7 separate regions of the Homo sapiens genome follow, and regions 1, 2, 3, 4, 5 and 7 are each linked to region 6. Evidence: promoter capture Hi-C in 16 types of primary human blood cells and fetal thymus (Javierre and others, 2016). All regions are on one chromosome and are shown on one strand. Each heading gives the region's core, a stretch centred on a gene start or on the middle of the fragment in contact. The rest is flanking DNA. Distances are from core to core; before and after follow the strand shown.

Evidence for each region. Contacts are between HindIII fragments. The CHiCAGO score rates a contact against its expected background, and 5 or more counts as called.
Region 1: a fragment that was not itself captured here is called in contact with the fragment with the promoter of PRSS36 in region 6 in 12 of 17 cell types (M0 macrophages, monocytes, M2 macrophages and 9 more); the score reaches 12.2 in M0 macrophages.
Region 2: the fragment with the promoter of ITGAX here is called in contact with the fragment with the promoter of PRSS36 in region 6 in 15 of 17 cell types (monocytes, neutrophils, M0 macrophages and 12 more); the score reaches 11.4 in monocytes.
Region 3: a contact is called between a fragment that was not itself captured here and the fragment with the promoter of PRSS36 in region 6, in 3 of 17 cell types (M0 macrophages, monocytes and M2 macrophages). The highest score is 7.6, in M0 macrophages.
Region 4: a fragment that was not itself captured here is called in contact with the fragment with the promoter of PRSS36 in region 6 in 10 of 17 cell types (monocytes, M0 macrophages, total B cells and 7 more); the score reaches 8.8 in monocytes.
Region 5: the fragment with the promoter of HSD3B7 here is called in contact with the fragment with the promoter of PRSS36 in region 6 in 7 of 17 cell types (M1 macrophages, megakaryocytes, endothelial precursors and 4 more); the score reaches 7.0 in M1 macrophages.
Region 7: a fragment that was not itself captured here is called in contact with the fragment with the promoter of PRSS36 in region 6 in 6 of 17 cell types (M0 macrophages, monocytes, M2 macrophages and 3 more); the score reaches 8.8 in M0 macrophages.

What each region holds. Positions count from the first base shown.
Region 1 is chr16:31,401,514-31,404,507 of GRCh38, forward strand. It overlaps ITGAD (integrin subunit alpha D), which reads left to right. Exons shown (of 30, transcript NM_005353.3): 6 at 602-732; 7 at 1,987-2,132. Among named protein-coding and RNA genes, the nearest start is that of ITGAD, 9.7 kb to the left of the region's middle. The HindIII fragment of the contact is 7,259 bases long and covers 1-2,994 here.
Region 2 is chr16:31,353,920-31,357,244 of GRCh38, forward strand. ITGAX (integrin subunit alpha X) reads left to right here and starts at 1,257. Exons shown (of 30, transcript NM_000887.5): 1 at 1,257-1,372; 2 at 1,974-2,079; 3 at 2,706-2,809; 4 at 3,112-3,182. The coding sequence starts at 1,336. RefSeq lists enhancers at 519-648, 839-1,028. The HindIII fragment of the contact is 18,983 bases long and covers 1-3,325 here.
Region 3 is chr16:31,315,227-31,318,332 of GRCh38, forward strand. All of the region lies in intron 14 of ITGAM (integrin subunit alpha M), which reads left to right. Among named protein-coding and RNA genes, the nearest start is that of ITGAX, 38 kb to the right of the region's middle. The HindIII fragment of the contact is 2,960 bases long and covers 146-3,105 here.
Region 4 is chr16:31,333,520-31,336,462 of GRCh38, forward strand. No RefSeq gene overlaps it. Among named protein-coding and RNA genes, the nearest start is that of ITGAX, 20 kb to the right of the region's middle. The HindIII fragment of the contact is 1,483 bases long and covers 742-2,224 here.
Region 5 is chr16:30,983,162-30,986,456 of GRCh38, forward strand. It overlaps HSD3B7 (hydroxy-delta-5-steroid dehydrogenase, 3 beta- and steroid delta-isomerase 7), which reads left to right and starts at 2,046. Exons shown (of 7, transcript NM_025193.4): 1 at 2,046-2,136; 2 at 2,492-2,663; 3 at 2,888-3,043; 4 at 3,262-3,295. The coding sequence starts at 2,498. It overlaps SETD1A (SET domain containing 1A, histone lysine methyltransferase), which reads left to right. Exons shown (of 19, transcript NM_014712.3): 18 at 474-611; 19 at 689-1,503. The coding sequence ends at 862. RefSeq lists an enhancer at 1,515-2,027. The HindIII fragment of the contact is 29,451 bases long and covers 1-3,295 here.
Region 6 is chr16:31,148,798-31,152,132 of GRCh38, forward strand. It overlaps PRSS36 (serine protease 36), which reads right to left and starts at 1,269. Exons shown (of 15, transcript NM_173502.5): 1 at 1,202-1,269; 2 at 899-934; 3 at 666-701; 4 at 276-438. The coding sequence starts at 1,238. RefSeq lists enhancers at 1-440, 441-976, 977-1,513. The HindIII fragment of the contact is 9,446 bases long and covers 1-3,335 here.
Region 7 is chr16:31,296,354-31,299,510 of GRCh38, forward strand. It overlaps ITGAM (integrin subunit alpha M), which reads left to right. Exons shown (of 30, transcript NM_000632.4): 13 at 1,161-1,301; 14 at 1,392-1,601. Among named protein-coding and RNA genes, the nearest start is that of ITGAM, 38 kb to the left of the region's middle. The HindIII fragment of the contact is 4,791 bases long and covers 1-3,157 here.

The sequences.
Region 1 (2,994 bases), core at 52-2,551, 250 kb after region 6:
CCCCACCCCCACAGCATCCCTACAGGCATATCCTACAGGCCTCGAAGGTGCCTGGCACGTGGTGAGAATGGTGCCAGCGGCTGACCCTGGCAGAGGGCCAGGACTTGTCTCCAGCACCCATGTGCGTGTTGCTTTATCCTTGCAGTGATCCCACGTGGTAGCCACTGATATTACCTTCATTTTACAGATAGGGACACTGAAGTCCAGAGAAGTTAAGTAATGTGCCTGAATTCACCAATTAGCACGTGGCTGAGCTGGGGTTTAGCCCAGGCACACTGGCTCCAGAACACGCGCCCTGAACCACTTTGCTAAACATTCGCCCTTGATGCTTGTGGCACCCCTAGCATCTGTGTTTAATGAATATTTGTTGATTAAATGGATGAGGAGCCCACCTGGGTCCTGTGTTGTCATCCCTCTCTTTCCAGGCCATGTGGGAGGAAGGGAGCAGGGGGCTGGGGTGGCAGACTGGGGCCTCCTCCAAGGAGGGGTCGGAAACTAGGTGGGGATGCCAAGAACAGCCCCCGGGCTCTGTTGAGCAGGAGCTGCAGGAGGGGGTTGGGCCCCCGCAGTGCATCTCCGATTCCTCCCCATTCCCCCACAGAGTGTCCACATCAAGAGATGGACATCGTCTTCCTGATTGACGGCTCTGGAAGCATTGACCAAAATGACTTTAACCAGATGAAGGGCTTTGTCCAAGCTGTCATGGGCCAGTTTGAGGGCACTGACACCCTGGTGAAGACTGGGCACCTGGGGCTGGGGTTTGGGGGACGGGGGAGGCTGGCCTCGGGGAGGCATCCCGGGAGGGGTGGGGGCAGGCCAGTGAGCCGTGTGTGATGGGGCTGGGGTGGAGAATGAAGCTATGGTCCCAGCACAGGCCCAACTTGAGCCCTGACCTAGGAGGCCCTCTTGGCATTTAATAATGTATCCAAAAGCTACAGGAAATACAATGTTTCTGCTGTTTAAAAACATTGAAAGTGTTTAAAAAATAATTTTGCTATGGAATTTGACTGACATATTTTCTATGTAACTAATGATTTCTTTTTATTATTTTATTTTCCCATAACTAGTGCCTATGTATGTGCAAAAAAACCCCACTGTTTTGTTTTTTAAACAGGGTCTTGTTCTGTCATCCAGGCTGCAGTGTGGGGGTGCAATCATAGCTCACTGCAGACTTGATCTCCCAGGCTCAAGTGATCCTCTTTCCTCAGCCTCCTGAGTAGATGGGACTACAGGTGCATGCCACCATGCCTGGCTAATTTTTAAAAATTTTTATTGTAGAGATGGGGTCTTGTTATATTGCCCAACCTGGTCTCCAACTCCTGGCTCAAACAACCCTCCCACCTTGGCCTCTCAAAGTGCTGGGATTACAGGCATGAGTCACTACGCCCAGCCACAAATTCTTGAGAAGGGAGGAAATACACAAATTGATTTAATGTGTGATAAAATTTTTAAAAAGCTAAGGGTAGCAAATATTGTGGTTGGCAAAGTTATTTTTAATAAACTGTGAAGGAAATATCATTTGGTTTAGATTTTCCAGTTTATATTTTGTATTTTTGGGCCAATGAATTTTCTTCTCTGGGTTTCAGTATATTATTTGTAGGGCTTCAAAACACATGGGAAATGGTTTGTAAATCCAAAATAATTCCAAAATAAAGTTTATTAAAACTGAAAACAATATGGCTTGGTGTGGTGGCTCACACCTGTAATCCCAGCACTTTGGGAGGCTGAGGTGGGAGTATTGCTTGAGGCCAAGAGTTCGAGACCAGCCTGGGCAACATAGTGAGACCTTGTCTCTACCAAAAACAAAACAAAACAAAAAACAAAGCCAGGCATGTGACGTGTGCCTGTAGTTCCAGCTACTTGGAGGCTGAGGCAGGAGGATCACTTGAGGCCAGGAGTTTGAGAGACCCTGTCTCTACAAAAAATTAAAATAAAAACAATAGTAACAGGCACTGAGCCCTGGGCCCTCCCCACTGGCCTTTGCAGTTTGCACTGATGCAGTACTCAAACCTCCTGAAGATCCACTTCACCTTCACCCAATTCCGGACCAGCCCGAGCCAGCAGAGCCTGGTGGATCCCATCGTCCAACTGAAAGGCCTGACGTTCACGGCCACGGGCATCCTGACAGTGGTGTAAGCAACCCCGACCCCAGCCTGGCGATGTGACTGCCACCCCCACTTCCTAACCCTGGGTCAGCACAGCTCTTCTCAGAGGCTGAGGGAGGCTCCAGGGAAAGGGGCTACCAAGGGGCATGTCGGGGCTGCAGGGAGAACCTCCCCCCGGGGTGCTCCTGGTTGCCTCGCTGCCAGTCTCCCTGATATAGGACTAGGCTCCTCTGCAGCTATGCCTCCCCTTTGCCTGGTTCTGCAGAGCCTGGACCCCAGGACCCCTCCCCACCCCACAGCAGCCAGAGGCCCGGGCTTTGGCTCAGACACATCAGGCTCCCATCCTGGCTCCCCGTGAGCTACTCTGGGTGTAACCCTGGGGTGATGGGCTCTAAGTCTCAGTAACTCTCAGATGAAGATAAGCTCACAGCTTAGGATTGAGATCATGTGTGTGGGGTGCTCAGCCCGGGGCACGTAGGAGGTGTCGGATAAATGCCTGAGGTTTTATCAGAGAATGGAGTAGTCAGGGACTCAGGAATTGTCACCCAAGGTCGTCCTGGTGCCTTTCTCCCCACTCACCTCCTCTCCCGCATCCCTCACCCCTGCGCACCCCCTGTGCTACCCAGGCACTCACCGTGGGCCTGCCCCGTGCACATGCAGTCTATTCCTAAAACGATGTAGGAGGTGGGACCCCCGAGAAAGGCATGTGGTTCTTGTAGGAAGGAGCTGGGCTGACGGTCGGGGATCCTTGGCTTCCTGCACACACCCCTGGGAGCAGCCCTGGGGTGGTGCTAGAATTTGGCTTAAACAAGAGATGCTCCCACCAAACGCACCCTCTTTACTTCTGGGAGGCTCTTCTGCCTTGAACGGTGGCCCCTTGTGACTCAGC
Region 2 (3,325 bases), core at 7-2,506, 210 kb after region 6:
CCACTTTCTAAAATGAAAATGTGAAGATCTCAGTCCCCATGAATTCCCTTCAATGCTGTCCTCCACTCTCAGGACAAAATCAATGTGTCTTCACCAGGTGTGGTGGCTCACACCTGTGATCCCAGCAATTTAGGAGGCTGAGGCAGGAGGATTGATTGAGATCAGGAGTTTGAGACCAGCCTGGCCAACATGGGGAAACTCTGTCTCTACTAAAATTAAAAAATATATATATATAAATATATATATATATTCAGGTGCAGTGGTGCAATCCTATAGTCCTGGCTACTCAGGAGGCTGAGGCAGGAGGATCCCTTGGGCCCAGGAGTTCGAAGCAGCAGTGAACTATGCACCCACTGCACTCCAGCCTGGGTGGCAGAGCAAGACCCTGTTTCTGAAATTAAAAAAAAAAATTGATGTACATTAGGGGGGCTTCCACGGCCTGAGGCCTGCTTCCCCTTGCTTTCCTCCCAGTGGCCCTGACCTTGTCTCTTACAACTTCCCACCCTGACTGTCTGGTTCCCATTGCTGATTTCACACACAGACCCTCCTGTCCCCTGCCTCATCCATGTCTGGCTGCTCTGTCATCTCCCAACTTTGGTTGCTTTCAATGCTCAGCTCAAGCACCACCTCTTTCAGGAAGCCTTCTCAGAAAGCCACACCTTCACAACCCGGGTGAGGCACCCTGTGGTCTCTGTGCTTCCCCCTCACAGCAATGAACTTGCTGTTTATACATCTGCCTCTCCACTGACCCCAGGGCTGGTGCTTTGTGGTTTATATTTTCTTCCCCACCTAGCAGAGGGCTTGCATCTCCAGGCTCAAATTAGGCTTCTTGAATAAATGATGAATAAATGAGTGAATGAATGAATGAACAAATACTCGCTCTGTGCTCCTCCTAGGGACCCGGATGCCCCACTCCTTGGCCCAGACTTTCCAGGTCAGAGTGGAGGGCTCCCACCAGGGTTTCCTTTAGGGTCCTGAGGGGTTGGCATCTGCCCAAACCCCCTCCAGTCTGGCTGAAATTTCAAGGTCAAGGGGTGCCTTCTGGCAGTCAAGGGTGAGCCTGGGAGGGGCAGGGCAGGGATTTGCATCCATCTAAGCAAAGGGCATCAAGCCAAGTCATCTGATGAGAGTGACTCCGGTTGGGGGGTGGGGGCGTGTGGGAGGCCGAGCCTGTCCTCGGATCAGTTGCGTACTCTGCCCGCCCCCTCTGACTCATGCTGACAATCTTCTTCCTTCCCCTGGCCACCTCTCTGCCCACTTGCTTCCTCAGTACCTTGGTCCAGCTCTTCCTGCAACGGCCCAGGAGCTCAGAGCTCCACATCTGACCTTCTAGTCATGACCAGGACCAGGGCAGCACTCCTCCTGTTCACAGGTGAGCCTGGACCCCAATGAAGTAGGGCTGGGGACCCAGGCCCAAGGGAGCCAGGGCCCTGAACTGGGGGCTCAGGCTGGGGGGTTAGGATCTGGGTAGGAAGAGAGACTCAGTCAAGCCTGAGGGGGAGGCAGGCACATAGGGTCTGAGATTTGGAGTTTGTGGAGGGAGAGGATATTGATGAACCAATTTTGGGAGAGTTCCAGAGATGCTGGAAGAGAGGCCAGTTGTCTCTGTACTGCAGAGATTTTTAAAATAGGCAGAATGCGCCAACTTGTGCTCTGTGGACAGGATGCTTTGGTCCGCAAGTTTTCCTGGACTCACTCTCATAGCGCCCGAGGTGCACGTTGGGGAAAGATCCTTTTTAGAGCCTGGGTACTGCTCTGCAGAAATGGAGAACTGCAACTCGATAGTGGATGGTGGGCAAGGGGCATCCCTGGACCCTGGGAAGGAGAGAAGGGGATGAGTTGGGTGTCCAGAAGACCCAGGCACCCCGGGCATCAGGCTCGGAGGGGAGATTGGGACGCTGGGGCCGGGGGTGGAGGGCAGCCAGGCAGAAGGAAGACCCTTCTCCAAAGCTCTCTTCCCACCTCTTTCCCAGCCTTAGCAACTTCTCTAGGTTTCAACTTGGACACAGAGGAGCTGACAGCCTTCCGTGTGGACAGCGCTGGGTTTGGAGACAGCGTGGTCCAGTATGCCAACTCCTGGTGAGGCCCAGGTGGTGCTGGCCTTTGGCTCCATCCATCCTCTCCCTGCTCAGGGCCCCATGCCCCCGGCCCTGCCCTGTTATTTGCAAACTCTCCTCTCTGTCTGGTGTAGCGACTGCCCTGGCTAATGAAGATTTGCCTTGAAGGCAGGCACGGTCTCACAGCTAACATTTACAGAGCAGTAAGTGCAGTGCCAGGCTCATCACAGGTGGATGCTGATTTAGTCCACACGACAGCCTGTGAGTAGGAATCAGTCGTGCAACAAACACTTATTTGTTTTTTCTTTCTTTTTTTCTATACATTTAAAAATATATAGAGACAGGGTCTCACTATGTTGCCTGGGTTGGTCTCAAACTCCTGGGCTCAAGCAATCCTCCCGCCTCAGCCTCCCAAAGTGCTGGGATTCCAGGTGTGAGCCACCACACCCAGACTCAACAAATATTTCTTGTCTCCATACGCCAGAGAATCCAACAGACAGAAATCCCTTCCACATGGACTTTAAATTATTAAAATCCATCTTGCAGATGAGGAAGCTGAGGCTCAGGGAGGGAACGCAAACTTGCCGGAGTGGCAGCTGTGCTGCAGCGTCCACACTCTTACCTAAAGTGTTCTTTGTCTCCTCGCAGGGTGGTGGTTGGAGCCCCCCAAAAGATAACAGCTGCCAACCAAACGGGTGGCCTCTACCAGTGTGGCTACAGCACTGGTGCCTGTGAGCCCATCGGCCTGCAGGGTGAGTCACCGCCCCTCCCGGGACCCAGGGCCGGGCTCCCAGGCTTCCCTGCTCCAGGGGCCCGTGGACTCACCGGAGTGTCACTTTCAGCTTCCACTGTGTCTGAGACCCTCACCCTCAGATATGCTTCCTGGCCCCTTAAGGCCTCCCCGCCCATCGCACTCCCGCAGCTCTGTCAAGACCCGACAGCTTCCTTCACCGTCAGACCTCCTTGTCTCCCAGGTGGAGGTGACCCCTGCCCAGCTCTTCCACAGCCTTCTCTGTACCCCCGAGAGTGACCATGCACATATCTGTCCCCACAGTGCCCCCGGAGGCCGTGAACATGTCCCTGGGCCTGTCCCTGGCGTCTACCACCAGCCCTTCCCAGCTGCTGGTGAGTGGCCCTGGGTCACAGGAGGCTTCTGAGGGAGGGAGGGAGGAGCCGGGGCCGCGGGGGGCTGGGAGTCTCCTGTAGGGTGGAGGTTCCGGAATGTGAGGGTGGGAGGAAGCAGGGGCAGCCCCCCAGCAGCCCGCTGT
Region 3 (3,106 bases), core at 376-2,875, 170 kb after region 6:
GTAGGTTGTCTCTTCACTCTGTTAATTATTCCTTTATTGTGCAGAAGCTTTTTAGTTTGATGCAATTCCATTTGTCTGTTTTTGTTTTTGTTGCTTGTGCTTTCAGGATCATATAAAAAAATCATTGCCCAGACCAATGTCATGAAGCTTTCCCTCTACGTTTCCTTCTAATAGTTTATAGTGTTAGATCTTACATTTAAGCCTTTAACTCACTTTTTAATTTTTTTATTTTTTAATTTAATTTTATTTTAGATGGAGTCTCTCTCTATTGCCCAGGCTGGAGTGCAGTGGCACGATCTCAGCTCACTGCAACCTCCACCTCCCGGGTCCCAGCGATTCTCCTGCCTCAGCCTCCCAAGTAGCTGGGATTACAGGCCTCCGCCACCATGCCTGGCTACTTTTTTGTATATTTAATAGAGACGGGGTTTCACCATGTTGGCCAGGCTGGTCTTGAACTCCTGATCTAAGGTAATCCACCCGCCTCAGTCTCCTAAAGTGCTGGGATTACAGGCGTGAGCCACTGCACCCGGCCCAGCACTTTTGATTTTTGTATTTGGTTTGAGATAAAGGCTCAGTTTCATTCTTTTGCCTGTGGATATCCAGTGTTCTTAACACCATTTGTTAAAAAGACTGTCCTTTCCCCATTGTATGCCCTTGGCACCTTTGTTGAAAATTAGTTGATTGTTGGCCGGGCGCGGTGGCTCATGCCTGTAATCTCAGCACTTTGGAAGGCTGAGGCGGGTGGATCATGAGGTCAGGAAATCGAGACCGTCATGGCTAACAAGGTGAAACCCCGTCTCTACTAAAAATACAAAAAATTAGCCGGGCGCGGTGGCGGGCGCCTGTAGTCCCAGCTACTCGGGAGGCTGAGGCAGGAGAATGGCGTGAACCCGGGAAGCAGAGCTTGCAGTGAGTCGAGATTGCGCCACTGCAGTCCGCAGTCCGGCCTGGGCGACAGAGCGAGACTCCGTCTCAAAAAAAAAAAAAAAAAAAAAAAAAAAAAAAAAAAAAATTAGCCAGGCATGGTGGTGGGCACCTGTAGTTCCAGCTACTCGGGAGGCTGAGGCAGGAGAATGGGGGAACCTGGGAGGAAGAGGTTGCAGTGAGCCTACATCATGCCACTGCACTCCAGCCTGGGTAACAGAGCAAGACTCCGTCTGGAAAAAAAAAAAAAAGAAAAGAAAATTAGTTGATTGTAAATGCATGGGTTCATTTCTGAGCTCTGTATTCTGTTCCATTGGTCAATGTCTCTGTTTTTATGTCAGTGTCATGCTGTTTTGCTGAGTATACCTTTGTGGTGTATTTTGATGTCAGGTAGTGTGATACCTCTACCTTTGTTGTTTATGCTCAAGATTGTCTTGGATATTTGAGGTCTTTTGTGACTTCATATTAATTTTAGTATTGTTTTTTCTATTTCTGTAAGAAATGCCATTGGGATTTTGGTAGGAATTACATTGACTCTATCGATCACTTTGAATAGTATGGACCTTTAAAAATATTCTTTCAATCCATAATATGGGATATCTTTCCATTGATTTTTGTCTTAACTTTCTTTCGTCAATGTTTTATAGTTTTAGTGTGCATATTTTTCACCTTCTTGGTTAAATTAACTTGTAAGCATTTTATTTTTTGATGCCATTGTAAATAGGATTAATTTCTTTTTCAGATAGTTTGTTGTTAGTGTATAGAAACAAATAATTTTTGTATGTTCATTTTGTATTCCATGACTTTACTAAATTTGTTTATTAAATTTGATAACTTTTTCGTAGAGTATTTATAACAAGTTTCTTATATATAAGATCATGTCAATTGCAAACAGGGACAATTTTTTTTTCTTTATTTCTAACTTGAATGCATTTCTTATCTTTTTCTTGCCCAATTGCTCTGGCTAGGACTTTCAGTACTGTGTTGAAATAGAAGTGGTGAGTGTGGGCATCCTTGCCTTGTTCCTAATTTTAGTGGTAAAATCAAATTTTCACCACTGGGTATGATGTTAACTAGACACTTTTTTTAATGTTCTTTATCATGTTGATGTAATTTCCCTGTATTTCTAGTTTGTTGAGGGTTTTTAATCATGAGTGGCTATTCCTGTGGCCTGAATGTTTGTGTCCTCCCCAGATTCATATGTTGAAGCCTAATTCCTTGTGTGATGGTATTTGTAGATGGGACCTTTGGAAGGTGTTTAGGTCATGAGAGTGTGGCCATCATTAATAGGATTAGTGCCCTTAGACAAAAGCAAAATGATGGTTGCCTATGAACCAGAAAATAGGCTCTCACCAGATATTGAATCTGCTTGCACCTTGATTTTGGATGTCACAAGTCTTCAGAACTATGAGAAATAAATTTCTATTGCTTATAACCCATCCAGTCTATGTTATTTGTTATACCAAATAAGCTAAGACAGATGTTTAGTTTTATTAAATGCTTTCTTTTCTTATTGATAAGATCATGTTATTTTTATTCCTTATTCTGTTAATGTGGTGCATCACATTTATTGATTTGCATATGTTGAGCCATCCTTGCATGCCAGGAATAAAGCCCACATGGTCATGGCGTATGACCCTTTTGTGCTATTGAATTCAGTTTGCTAGTATTTTATTTAGGATTTTGGATCTATGTTCAATAGGGAAATTGGCATGTAGTGATCTTTTCTCATGGTGTGTTTGTTGGGATTTAGTGTCAGGATAGTGCTTGCCTCATACAATAAGTTTGGAAGTATTCCCTCCTCTTCAGTTTTTTGGATGAGTTTGAGAAGAATTCATATTAATTCTTATTTAAATGTTTGGTTGGTAGAATTTGCCTGAGAAGCCACCAGGTCCTGGGCTTTTCTTTGTTAGGAGGTCTTTGATTACTGATTCAATTTCCTTACTCATTATAGATCTGTTTAAACTTTCTATTGCCTTATGATTCAGGCTTGGTAGGTTGTATATTTCTAGGAATTTATCCATTCCTTCAAGGTTATCAAGTTTGTTAACATATAATTGTTCATAGTAGTCTCTTAATGATCCTTTTTATTGCTATGGCATCAGTTGTATGTTCTTTCATTTATAATTTTACTTATCTGTTGTTTCTGTTTTTTCTCCCTTTTTCCTTGGTCTACCTAAAA
Region 4 (2,943 bases), core at 233-2,732, 180 kb after region 6:
AGATATGATTGCATCACTGCACTCCAGCCTGGGCGACAGAGCAGGACTCCATCTTAAAAAAAAAAAAATAAATAAAATAAAATAAAATAAAGAGATGGCTCCAGGAAATACCGAGGAAGGGAAGGCTGCCAATAACAGGTGTATCACCCACAGAGAAGCTGCTGTGAGTTCCTGGAGCTTCACCCCACTGGGCAGTTCTCGGAGGCAGTGCAGAACACGCACCTCAGTATCACCCCACCCAGGGGAGAAGGCTGGAGCGCATAGACACCGATTCCACTTAGCTATTGGATGAGGGCTGCTCTTGGTGGGGAGAGTGTGTTAATTTCCTACCACTTCTGGCCTGCCCTGAGTGTGAGGAGAGTGGGCTCTAGTGGCCAGAGAAAGTGATACCAGTGCTGCTGGCTGGATGTTTGACAGGTGAACACAGCCCCTGACACGGTGCCTTTGGTTCAGGTCAGGGCACCAGGAGCACTTGCTGCCAAGGTGTGTGCAGGTGACATTTTGGTGGCTGCTTCCTCAGAGGGAGGATGCCCAGTGCCTGTCCCTCATACTTTGCAAACACAGTAAACACTAGCCTGGCCTGAACATACATCCTCTCTAATCCTCACACCAGTCCTTGGTATTTACATGAATTTCACTTATGAGGAAACCTAGGCTTAGATAGATCATACCAGTTGCCTGAGGTCATACAGCTGGGAAGGAATGGAGCTAGGAGTTAATCCCAGCTCTGCCTAGGTCTAAAGCTTTTCTCTTTTACTGTCCTGACAGCCTCAGAGGAATGGCCCCAGAACAGGCATGAGGGAGTGTGGGGAGAGGGTGGCTGTTATTTAACTGTTATGATATTGGGTTAAAGCATATGAAATTGATGACATGTTTTTGGACAAAAATGTTTCTTTCTTTTCTTTCTTTCTTTCTCTTTCTCTCTTTTCTTTCTCTCTCTCTTTCTTTCTCCTTCTTTCTTTCTTTCTCCTTCTTTCTTTCTTTCCCTTCCTTCCTTCCTTCCTTTCCTTCCTTCCTTCCTTCCTTCCTTCCTTCCTCCTTCCTTCCTTCCTTCCTTCCTCCTTCCTTCCTTCCTTCCTTCCTTTCTTTTTTCTTTCTTTCTTTCCTTCCTTCCTTCCTTCCTTCCTTCCTTCCTTCCTTCCTTCCTTCCTTCTTTCTTTCTTTCTTTCTTTCTTTCTTTCTTTCTTTCTTTCTTTCTTTCTTTCTTTCTTTCTTTCTTTCTTTCTTTCTTTTTTTTCATGGAGTCTTGTTCTGTCGCCCAGACTGGAGTACAGTAGTGTGATCTCAGCTCACTACAACCTCTCCCTCCCGGGTTCAAGTGATTATCTTGCCTCAGCCTCCTGAGTAGCTGGGATTACAGGCGTGCACCACAATGTCTGGCTAATTTTTTTTTTTTGTATTTTTGGTAGAGATGGGGTTCCACCATGTTGGCCAGGCTGGTCTTGAACTCCTGACCTCAGGTGATCCATCTGCCTTGGCCTCCCGAAATGCTGGGATTACAGGTGTGAGTCACTGTGCCCAGCCAAAAAATGGTAATTTCATGATCTTCATTGAAATACAAGAAAATCATGGCTTAGAGGGACACTTGTTTCACATGTGGCAGGAGGAGAGAGGGCTTACTCCTTAGGGAGGTGAAGGAAGGGTCCCCAAGGGAGGTGACACCTGACTGAAGCAGGGCCAGAAGATCTCCAGGCAGAAGGGAGGGCAGGGGAGGCTGGGAGAGTGGGCAGGGCTTGGGCATGAGTGCTTTGTAAGCCAGAGTGAGTAGTTCCAATTTCACTCAAAGTGAAGTGAGATGCCCTCAAAAGGTGGCTAATGAGACAATGGCCCTTTGTATCTGTGGGGGTGACACAAAACACGGTCACCTTTAGACGGTTCTTTGCTATTTCCTCTCCTGACTTAAATAAAGTCTGTTAAGAATTTCTGTGTTTCCTTATGTTGAAAGATAAAAGTCCTCAATATCTGCAGAAGTCCTGAATTGCTCCGGGAACAGAGAGAGTTCTGTACCTTTAGTCGCCTGTCCTTTCACCCTCCATGTCTGTAGTCGCCTGTCCTTGCAGCCTCCATGCTGGTCCTTGTAGCCTTCGTACCTAGTTGCTTGTCCTGGCAGCCTCCATACCTGTAGTTGCCTGTCCTTGCAGCCTCCGTGCCTGTAGCCGCCAGTCTTTGCAGGGCAGTTAAAGTCCTGTGAACTCAGAGTTCACCTCCGCGTCTTCAAATGAGAAGCTTGTGTTGAATTCAGCCAGATAGGAGCTTTATGATGGGTTAGAAAAGTCAATCATTTCAAGCGACAGATTTCCCTAGCATGACCACAAAGTGACTAATAAACAGGACCATAAATCTGGTGATAAGTGGCCAAGTCCAGGAACGTCTGCTTGCTTTTATTTTTGGGGATTTCTCACTTCAGAATAAATGAATCCCTTCAGTATCCACTCTCCTTTTCCTACTTAGAGTAGAATCTTAATTTGGGCCACCATGGGAGATGGTTACAATTCTGACTCCCAGTGAATGGTGCTTCCCGGCCCTACACCCTTGCAGTGTGACATTGCTGTCCCTGACATCACATGGTGCGGCCTGTCTACCTCTTTGAATCTGGGCTGGTCCCGTGGTTTGCTTTGATTAATAGAATACAGTAGGAGTGTGGTCGTGTGAGTTCTGGAGCCTAGACCTTTAGGAGCACAGCAGATCCTGCCCTGCACCCCTCGGAACACTGAGGTCACCACGCCGTGATCCATATGGCCCACTGGAGAAAGAGTGGACTCATGGAGGAGACAGCGGAGGCCACTGCCACTGTGCATGCATGAGGCTGCTGTGATCCTTCCATCCAGCTGTCCAACACCTGCAGCCACTGGAGAGTCCCACAGAACTGCCTGGATTGTCACCTCATGCAACTGTGAGAAATAATCAATTACTGATGTCTCAGTCCTGCGTGGTGGTTTGTTA
Region 5 (3,295 bases), core at 796-3,295, 160 kb before region 6:
ACACGGAGGTGCGGGGCCTGACATGGGCGGCCTGCCATTTGCATTAGCCGGTGGCAGCCAACAGGTGCCTGTTTTGGAGAGAGGTCCAGGGAGGAGAGATGAGCAGGGTGCCGTTGGTGACATGGCCAGTCATTTCAGGAGCTGCCCCAACCCCAGACTTGCCCCAGCAGTCCGGGACCCCACTGTGACCAGGCAGATGCTCGAAGGAGTCAGTGGCTCTCTTACCCAGTGCAGATTTCCCTGGAGTTCCCTGCGGGTGACTTAGAATGGCCACCAGAGGCTTAGGATGCTGCCCCAAAGAGGGAGGGCTCCTGGAAGCAGAGTCGAGAGAGTCAGTGCCGGGTTAGCGGGAGCTGGAGGCAGAGCTGCAGCTCCAGGCCTGGTGGGCGTGGACCTGGGGTGCTGGCTGGCAGGCGTGCTCAGGGGCAGGAAGTGGGGGACTCTTCCCTGACCATCGCATCTCACCCTGGCAGATGGTGGCCGACATGCGGGAGAAGCGCTACGTGCAGGAGGGCATTGGCAGCAGCTACCTGTTCCGGGTGGACCACGACACCATCATCGATGCCACCAAGTGTGGCAACCTGGCCAGATTCATCAACCACTGCTGCACGGTGCGCCAGGGGCCAGCCGGGGCAGGAGTTGGGGGTCGGTGGGGGTGGCCACGGCTCACACGCCCTTCCATCCGCAGCCTAACTGCTACGCCAAGGTCATCACCATCGAGTCCCAGAAGAAGATCGTGATCTACTCCAAGCAGCCCATTGGCGTGGACGAGGAGATCACCTACGACTACAAGTTCCCACTGGAAGACAACAAGATCCCGTGTCTGTGTGGCACAGAGAGCTGCCGGGGCTCCCTAAACTGAGGTGGGGCAGGATGGGTGCCCACACCCCTATTTATTCCCCCTGGTGCCCTGAGCTCCCAGCACCCCCCCAGCCTTAGTGGGCTCAGCAGGGCCCACATGCCCCCATCTCCAAGCGTGGGGTTGGGGGCCCCAAGCCCAGCGAGGGAGCCTCAGTCCCTGGAGGCAGCTTCTGCCTCTCCTGTCACCCCTGCCCACCACCCCCTGATTGTTTTTCTTTGCGGAGAAGAAGCTGTAAATGTTTTGTAGCAGCCAGCAGCTGTTTCCTGTGGAAACCTGGGGTGCCGGCCTGTACAGATTCTGTCCTGGGGGGCTACACAGTCCTCTTGCTTTGTGTTAATGGGGACTTCCCCTTACGCCCTGCGTGTACCCCTCCCCAGTTTAGGGGTCTCTGGGGCAGTGGCCATGTTCTCCCCCTGGGGGGGCTCTGCACCCCCAGTCCTGGGGACTCCGTGCCTGGAACCCTGCCTCATCTGTTCCTGCCAGACCCTGAGGGTCACCCTTCCACCCTGGTGTCACTCCCCGGCTCAGCCAGGCCAGGATGGCGGGGTGGGTCCCTTTTGCTGGGCTGGACTGTACATATGTTAATAGCGCAAACCCGACGCCACATTTTTATAATTGTGATTAAACTTTATTGTACAAAAGTGTTTGGTCGGTGTATTTGGGCAGGAGCGAGGGGTTGGGGGTAGAGGGCACGGAGGGTTGTGCAAGTTGAAGAGAGGGAAAAGTGGGTACCTGAAGTGTGGGGCAGGTAAAGGGGCCTTCAGGCAAGAGCCCAGACCTGCAGAGACAGTCCGAGACTGTCTCGGACCCCCTGACAGGCTGCAGCAGCCGCACCCGCACCAGGAATACCCCACCAGTGCCCGCCAGGGTGGTGCCAAGGTCAGGCCTCCCCTTCCTACAATCACAGCTGCAGCTGGACCTCCGGCCTCCTGGGAAGCCCAGCAGGAGGGAAGGCCTGAGGTCACACTGTGGGATGAGGTCACCGCTGGCTCCACCCACAGCCCCAGACCCCTTCAGCCCACTCTGCAAGTTCGAGCTTCATCCCCACCAAGTTCTCCGCTGGACCCAGATGCCAGTGGAGCACAGAGCGGCCGCCAGGGGGCGCCTTGGGGCAAGAGTGGTGGGGGTTGTGGCTGGGCGGGTCTCTGTTCCTGGAATGGGGCAGGAGGGAGAAGGAGGAGCCAGCGGAAGGACGGTGTGCGGGCCGGCCAGCCCTGGACGAAAGAAGAGGGCCCCTCCAGGCCAGTCTGGGCACCCTGGGATAGCGGCTGCAGGTAGGCAGAGGCGCTGCCAGTGCCCAGGTGGCCTTTCCCTCCATCCGGCCCTTCCCACCTTCCTATAACCTTCCCTCCACCTCCCTCAACTCCTGGCCTCCCCACCCTTTTACTGCCTTCAAATCTCTCTCCCTAAACCCTGACCCCTTCCTGCACCCCAAGCCCGCCCCTCTCTCCGTAACTCAGCCATCAGCAGGGGCAGACGGCAGGTGGCCTGGTTGCTGCAGCTCCCAGGATCAGCTCTGCCCTCCCCGCAAACGCCAGCCTCGTCACCGCTCCAGGGCACCTCCAGCAGTAACAGGTGGTTGCAGCAGGTGGCAGCCAGCCCCTGGATGAGCCAAGGTCTCTTCCCCAGCCAGGCATGGCCGACTCTGCACAGGCCCAGAAGCTGGTGTACCTGGTCACAGGGGGCTGTGGCTTCCTGGGAGAGCACGTGGTGCGAATGCTGCTGCAGCGGGAGCCCCGGCTCGGGGAGCTGCGGGTCTTTGACCAACACCTGGGTCCCTGGCTGGAGGAGCTGAAGACAGGTTCTTGTTGGGGGAGCTTGTGGTGGAGAGGGTGTGGACGCTTCCCCAACCCTTCCCAAGCTGGGATCCCCACCCCTGCAGTGGAACAGATGATGCTGGTTTCTGTCCACATGGATGGGTCGAGTGAGTCACATTGGGAACGTGACTCCAGGGTGGAAGATGAACCCAGCCTCTGGCCTCTGGCCCCAGCTCTGACATGGCCTGTGTCCTCCAACCCCGGCCAGGGCCTGTGAGGGTGACTGCCATCCAGGGGGACGTGACCCAGGCCCATGAGGTGGCAGCAGCTGTGGCCGGAGCCCATGTGGTCATCCACACGGCTGGGCTGGTAGACGTGTTTGGCAGGGCCAGTCCCAAGACCATCCATGAGGTCAACGTGCAGGGTGAGGAGCTCTGGACACTCCTGGCCATCTTGCCTGTTTGTTCCCCACTCTGTCTTTGGCCTTGACCTCCGGTGACTCCCCTGGGACAAGTTGTCCTATTGACAGCCCTGCCCCCGCCTCCCCTGACCTGTCATGGTTTTCCCTGGACCTGGGATGGGGAGGAGGAAGATGCAGAGAGGGAAGAAGCTGCAGCTTGGATACGCCTCCTCCTCTGCCAGGTACCCGGAACGTGATCGAGGCTTGTGTGCAGAC
Region 6 (3,335 bases), core at 19-2,518:
TCCTCAAAGGGGAAGAGCAAATCCGATTTGGAGCTGGTGGTGGGGGGGTCATTGGAAAGATGGGATTCAGACCCGGATATTGAGTGGAGTGGTGGGACCAGTCCGGCAGCCTTGCCCCACTCGGAACCATGATGCCTCGAATAGCACCTCGCTTTGGGGACAGCTTGGCTCCAAATTATCCTTGAGGACGGAAGTGGGGCGGGAGGAGGGGACCAACTGCGGGGGCGGGGGCCAGCTTTTGGCGGAGAGGGGCCAGGACCAGGGCGAATACTCACGTCATGAAACAGTGAGCAGCGGAGAGGACCCAGGAGGGGGCGATGAGGGAGCCCCCGCAGATGTGGCCACCTCCATGGTGCAGGCTCACTTGCCAAGGCCAGGTGCCCGGCTGCGCGTTTGAGCCCCCCACGATGCGGGCCGAGGGCTCAGGGCGCCCGCAGTCTGCAACGGGGAGCCGTGGAAGCCAAAGCTCCCCTCGGGTTCCCCACTCCAGAAGCCCAGGTAACTCAGGACGAAGGCCCGTCCTCCACCCACTTCAGTTTGCCCCTCTGAACAAAGAACATAGAGGACCCAGGCTTGTCTACATTTCTGGTCTTTTCCACCTCCCTCATGGCCTGACCAGCCTTAGCCTCCTTTAAGGTCTGAGGGTGCCAAGGCCTCTTCCTTACCCAGATCTTCAGGTTCTTCCTGGGTAGGACTGAGAGCTGGGAGCCAGAGGGGAAAGAGAGGAGGACACTTGTGACTTCCAGGCCTGCACCGCCCAGCCCCACTTCCTGCTCTCCAACCCCCGACCCTATCTTCCCACTTCCCTGTCCGTTCAGCAACCCCTGCCAGCACCCATGCCAGTCCTCTGGTCTTTTCTGCCTCTGCACGTGACTTTCCCCCAGTCCGGCTACCTTACCTGAGTCCTGGAAGGCTCCTGGGATGGGACTGATGACTGGAAAGACAGAGGTAGGCAGGAAGAGGCTGGCGACTCGCACTCAGTATGTGCCCTCCCTGACTCCCTCCCCCAGCCTCCTAGCCTCCGTCTCCCCAGGGCACCCAGGCCTCCCTCTCCCTCCTCTGATACATCCTCGCCTTCTGCTGCCTCACTTCCTTCTCTCTGACTTCCTGCTCCCCACACAGAAACCAGGAATCCTGCTCTCCAGCCCCCCAGATGCCAGGACCCAGGCCCTTTGCAGCCACTCTTGTCCCCTGAGGTTACCAAGCATCACAAGGGGGAGGAGCAGGTGCCGGGCCATGGCGCTAGAGTCAGCGGAGGCAGAGCCAAGTGAAGGTCTGCTCCCTGCAGGGCTCTGTCACTGCCCAGGCAGCCCGTGACTCCTGATGGTCCCAGGGGCAGCCCCACCCTCCCTGGCTGGAGCCCATCTCTGGGAATCTGAGAGGATCTGGGGCTGGAAGGGGGAAGCTGGGGAGCCTGAAGGCCCCACCCAGAGCCCTGCGCACATCTCATGTCTCTGGAGGCCCAGGGTGGGGGTGGAGGACAGGTGTCCTAGCTCCTGGACACCTGTTGGGTGGGAGAGGGAGGGATGAAAAACACTGCAGGCAAAGGTCAAAGAGGAGGACAGTGTTCTGTGTCCTTGGTGAGCAGTGGCCCTTAGGACAGGGGAAGTGGCCCCTCACGGGCATGACTCATCGGAGACCTCACCTCTGTTTGGGGTGCGGCTGCCCCAGTGGCTTGGCCTTTTCTTCTCACACAGCTCTGGTTACTGGAGCTGCTGGCCAGGTCTGGGACAGGAGCCCTAGGGAATTCAATCCCATCCCAACAAAAGGATCACAGATTCCAGCAGGTTGGGCAGGGCATAGGGACCCTGGGAGGGGGCTGGGCAGGCTGGCGAGGCTGAAAAAGCCTCCACCCTGCTCTGTGTTCCAGTGACAATGCTCTTAGCTGCCCTGTCACTTACTCTGTGTGACTTTGGGAAAGTAACCCAACCTCTTGGTGTGTATCAGTAAGAGCCAGTTTAAGGGACATATGACTTGGCCGAGCACGGTGGCTCACTCCTGTGATCCTAACACTCTGGGAGACTGAGGTGGGAGGATTGCTTGAGGCTAGGAGTTCAAGACCAGCCTGGTCAACATAGCAAGACCCCATCTCTACAAAAAATTAAAAAATACAAAAATTATGAACTGCAGGGCGTGGTGGTGCACGTCTGTATCCCAGCTACTCGGGAGATGAGGTGGGAGGATTGCTTGAGCCTGGGAGGTCGAGGTTGCAGTGAGCTATGATTGTGCCACTGCACTCCAGCCTGGGTGACAAAGCGAGACCCTGTCTCAACAACAACAACAAAAAGAAAAAAAAAAAGAAGAATAAGAAGAAGAAAGAAACATATGGCTCTTCAAAGAGGAGTTGAAGAGAGTTTAAGGAAGAAACTATTTATAGAAGTGTAGGCAGGGTCAAAGGAAACCAAAGAGGCTGGGTGGCTCACGGCTGTAATCCCAGCACTTTGGTAGGCCGAGGCGGGCAGATCACCTGAGGTCAGGAGTTCAAGACCAGCCTGGCTAACTTGGAGAAGCCCCATCTATACTAAAAATACAAAAATTAGCCGAGTGTGGTGGAACTCACCTGTAATCCCACCTATTAGGGAGGCTGAGGCAGATAAAAATGCTTGAACCCAGGACGTGGAGGTTGCAGTGAGCCAAGATAGCGCCGTTGCACTCTAGCCTGGGTGACAAGAGCGAACTCCGTCTCACAAAAAAAAAAAAAAAAAGGAAACCAAAGAGGGATGGTAACGCATCCTGGGGCCAGCAATAATAGAGAGCCCTTGCTACCTGCTGGCCTGAAGAGGCAGAGAGGGGGCAGTTACTGGAACCCAGCAAGAGCTGCAGCTATGGAAGAGATAGCTGTTAGGAGCCGTGGCCTTCAATAGAGAAATGCAGCCTTTACCAGCAGAGAGGGAGTGGGGAAAGAAAAATCCCCATCTCACTCTCATCTCATCCTCTCTATTTTTAATTAAACCAATTAAAAAATTTTAGAGACACGGTCTCACTCTGTCACCCAGGCTGGAGTGCAGTGCTGTGATTATAGCTCACTGTAACCTCGAATTCCTGGGCTTAAGCGATCCTCTGGCCTCAGCCTCCTGAGAAGCTGGGACTACAGGCACGCACCACCATACCCAGCTAATGTTTTTTATTTTTGTAGAGATGGGGTCTTATTATGTTGCCCAGGCTGGTCTCAAACTCCTGTCTCAAGCGATCTTGCTGCCTCAGTCTTCCAAAAGTGCTGGGATCCTCCCATCCTCTGATCACCCCCTGGCTCTTTTCATTGAAACCTCCCAGAGGCCAGAGTTCAAGGGAGACCATTATATGGTCCATAAAGGTCACTCTTAGGGAACAAATCA
Region 7 (3,157 bases), core at 604-3,103, 150 kb after region 6:
CCACACGCCCTGGCCTCCCAAAATGCTGGGATTACAGGCATGAGCCACTGCATCTGGCCGGTTATATGACTTTATATGTTTGTCAAAACTCATAAAACTATGTACTAAAAGGCTGAATTTTATTGTATGTAAACTCTTCCCCAATAAATCTGACCTAAAAAACAATCAAATTCTGTTGACTTTAGGATAAAGTATTCAGTTATCAATGAGTCTTCCCTCAATGGTGTATGAGGCAGAAATCACGTTGCAGAGCCGTGGCATGATGTCCCCTGCACATTCCCTTTCTAGAACTTGTCCCAGTTTGAAATTGCTATACACATCTCCCTGTTAATCCATTGATTACTCTCCTCTCCTCCACCTGGCTGCACTGAGGGCCCTGGAAGGCACTGTATCTCTATTACCCAGCTGTGTGCTTAGCAATAAGAAACACTTGTTTGTTGAATGAATGAATAAATGAATGAATGAATGTATGATTAAATAGGTGAATTTTATGGATGAATTCTACATATTGACCTTGAAGATATTTCTTAATATCACAACAAATATTCAAATAACAAATAGTTATTTTTAATCTAAGCCAGTTATTAGCCTTATTAGTCAGAGTGCCAACTTTGACTTTTTACCTCCCTAAAGATTCCCAATATATTGAAAGGGTGGTATTCTGTCTTCTCTTCTAGAATTTTCTATGTATTTTCCAACCCAAATTCTTCTTTGCTGCCTTAATAATCTCCCAGGAATACCACCTGGAGTAAATCCTCACTCACTGCCCATTGACTCTACTATAGGCTTATTTTTTATCTTTTAAATTATTAAAAAATATATATATACACTTAGAGATTGGGATCTTGCTCTGTTGCCCAAGCTGGAGTGCAGTGGTGACAAAGCTCACTGCAGCCTTAAACTCCTTGGCTCAAGGGATCCTCCCACTTCAGCCCCCCGAGGAGCTGGGATTACAGGCAGAAACCATTCTGCCAGGCTTATTATATAGGTTCCTTTAGCTGGCAGCACATTCAAGTGATAATTTATCATGAACCATATAGAAGATCACATCTGCTCCAGAGGGATTCCCCCAGCAGGCATAACTTTTCTTCAGAGAGAGAAAACCTCCACATCTGCTTTAGGTGGGAAGAGGTGTGTGATTACGGTCCTGTCTCTTTCAGATCGGCGCCTACTTCGGGGCCTCCCTCTGCTCCGTGGACGTGGACAGCAACGGCAGCACCGACCTGGTCCTCATCGGGGCCCCCCATTACTACGAGCAGACCCGAGGGGGCCAGGTGTCCGTGTGCCCCTTGCCCAGGGGGGTGAGTGGCAATGGGACCTGGGCTGGGTGGGGCCCGGTGTGGGTGGAGGGGTCGCCTGGGTTGGGGCCTGATACTGTTTGTGTTTAGCAGAGGGCTCGGTGGCAGTGTGATGCTGTTCTCTACGGGGAGCAGGGCCAACCCTGGGGCCGCTTTGGGGCAGCCCTAACAGTGCTGGGGGACGTAAATGGGGACAAGCTGACGGACGTGGCCATTGGGGCCCCAGGAGAGGAGGACAACCGGGGTGCTGTTTACCTGTTTCACGGAACCTCAGGATCTGGCATCAGCCCCTCCCATAGCCAGGTGAGACCTGGTCACTGTCCTTGTCATGACAGTAGCCTCTTTGTTGATCTTTCTCCTAATTCAGTGTGCCCACAGCTGCCAGATAAGTTCTCACAGTACTCCTTTCAGAACCTTCAAAAATAATAACATGTGGCTGGGCCTGGTGGCTGACGCCTGTAATCCCAGCACTTTGGAAGGCTGAGTTGGGAGGATTGTTTAAGCCCAGGAGCTCAAGACCAGTCAGGGCAACATGGTGAGAACCCATCTCTCCAAAAAAAAAAAAAAAAAAAAAAAATTAGCCAGGTGTGGTGGCATACACCCATGGTCCCAGCTACTCTGGAGGCTGAGGCCGGAGGATTACTTGAGCCTGGGAGGTTGAGGCTGCAGTGAGTCCTGGTCACACCACTGTACTCCAGCAGCCAGAGTGACAGAGTCAGACTTGCACATGCATGCGTGCACGTGCACACACACACACACATTCACAGAAATCTCAAAGACTCTTAGTTCCAGATTGATTATTTCTACAGCAATAGGAGGTGCATGATAGCCTCATCACCCCCACTTTACAGATGAGTAGATCAAGGCCCAGCGATGGCAAATGGCAAGCTAGCAGTATTGGGATGCAGGCATTCCTTTCTTCTGAATCTCGGTCCTGGTAAGGTGACCAAGAGCTCTAGTTTGCTTAACTCTGTCCCAGATTTAGTACTGAAATCCCACATCCTGGGAAACCTATGCGGTTGGCCACCTTACGGGATTGCACACTTCACAGATGTGGAATTGTGCAGTCACACGTGCCCCTCTCTCAGAATCGCCCTGTGCTTGGCTTAATGCTCTGCTATTGCCATCTTCAATTCTTAGTAATTTTTCAACAAGGGGTCCTACGTTTTTTTGCATTGGGTCTTGCAAAGCATGGAGCCCATCCTGATGACTTGTCACCCTATATTCTGGACCTGACAACTGTTTTGCTCTGTAAGTTGGCTTTCTGTCTCCTGCCAGGTGGAGCCCACTGTCTGGAGGGACCCTTACAGTCTGGTTCCATCTTCCCTGTTCATATTCTTTCCCACCATAGCCACCTGAGACCATCTAGTTTTCTGGCCTCTGGTCTCTGGGTTTTTGCTAGCCTTACATTTTTCTTTCTTTATGTTTAAAAATTTTTTTATTGTGGTAAGGGCACTTAACATGAGACCTATCCTCTTAACAGATTTTAAAATGTACAATGTAATACTGTCATCTATTGGTGCAATGTTGTACAGCAGACCTCTTGAACTTCATCTTGCATATTGAAAATGTATACCCATTGATTAGCAACTCCTCATTGTTCTCTAGCCTCTGGCAGCCACCATTATATTCTTTGCTTCAATGAGTTTGGCTGTTTTATTTTTTTTTAGTTTTTGAGACAAAAGTTTCAGTCTGTCGCCCAGGCTGGAGTGCAGTGGCACAATCTCGGCTCACTGCAACCTTACCTCCTGGGTTCAAGCGATTCTCCTCTCTCAGCCTCCTGAGTAGCTGGGATTACAAGCATGCACCACCATGCCTGGCTAATTTTTGTATTTTTTGTAGAGACTGGGTTTTGCCAT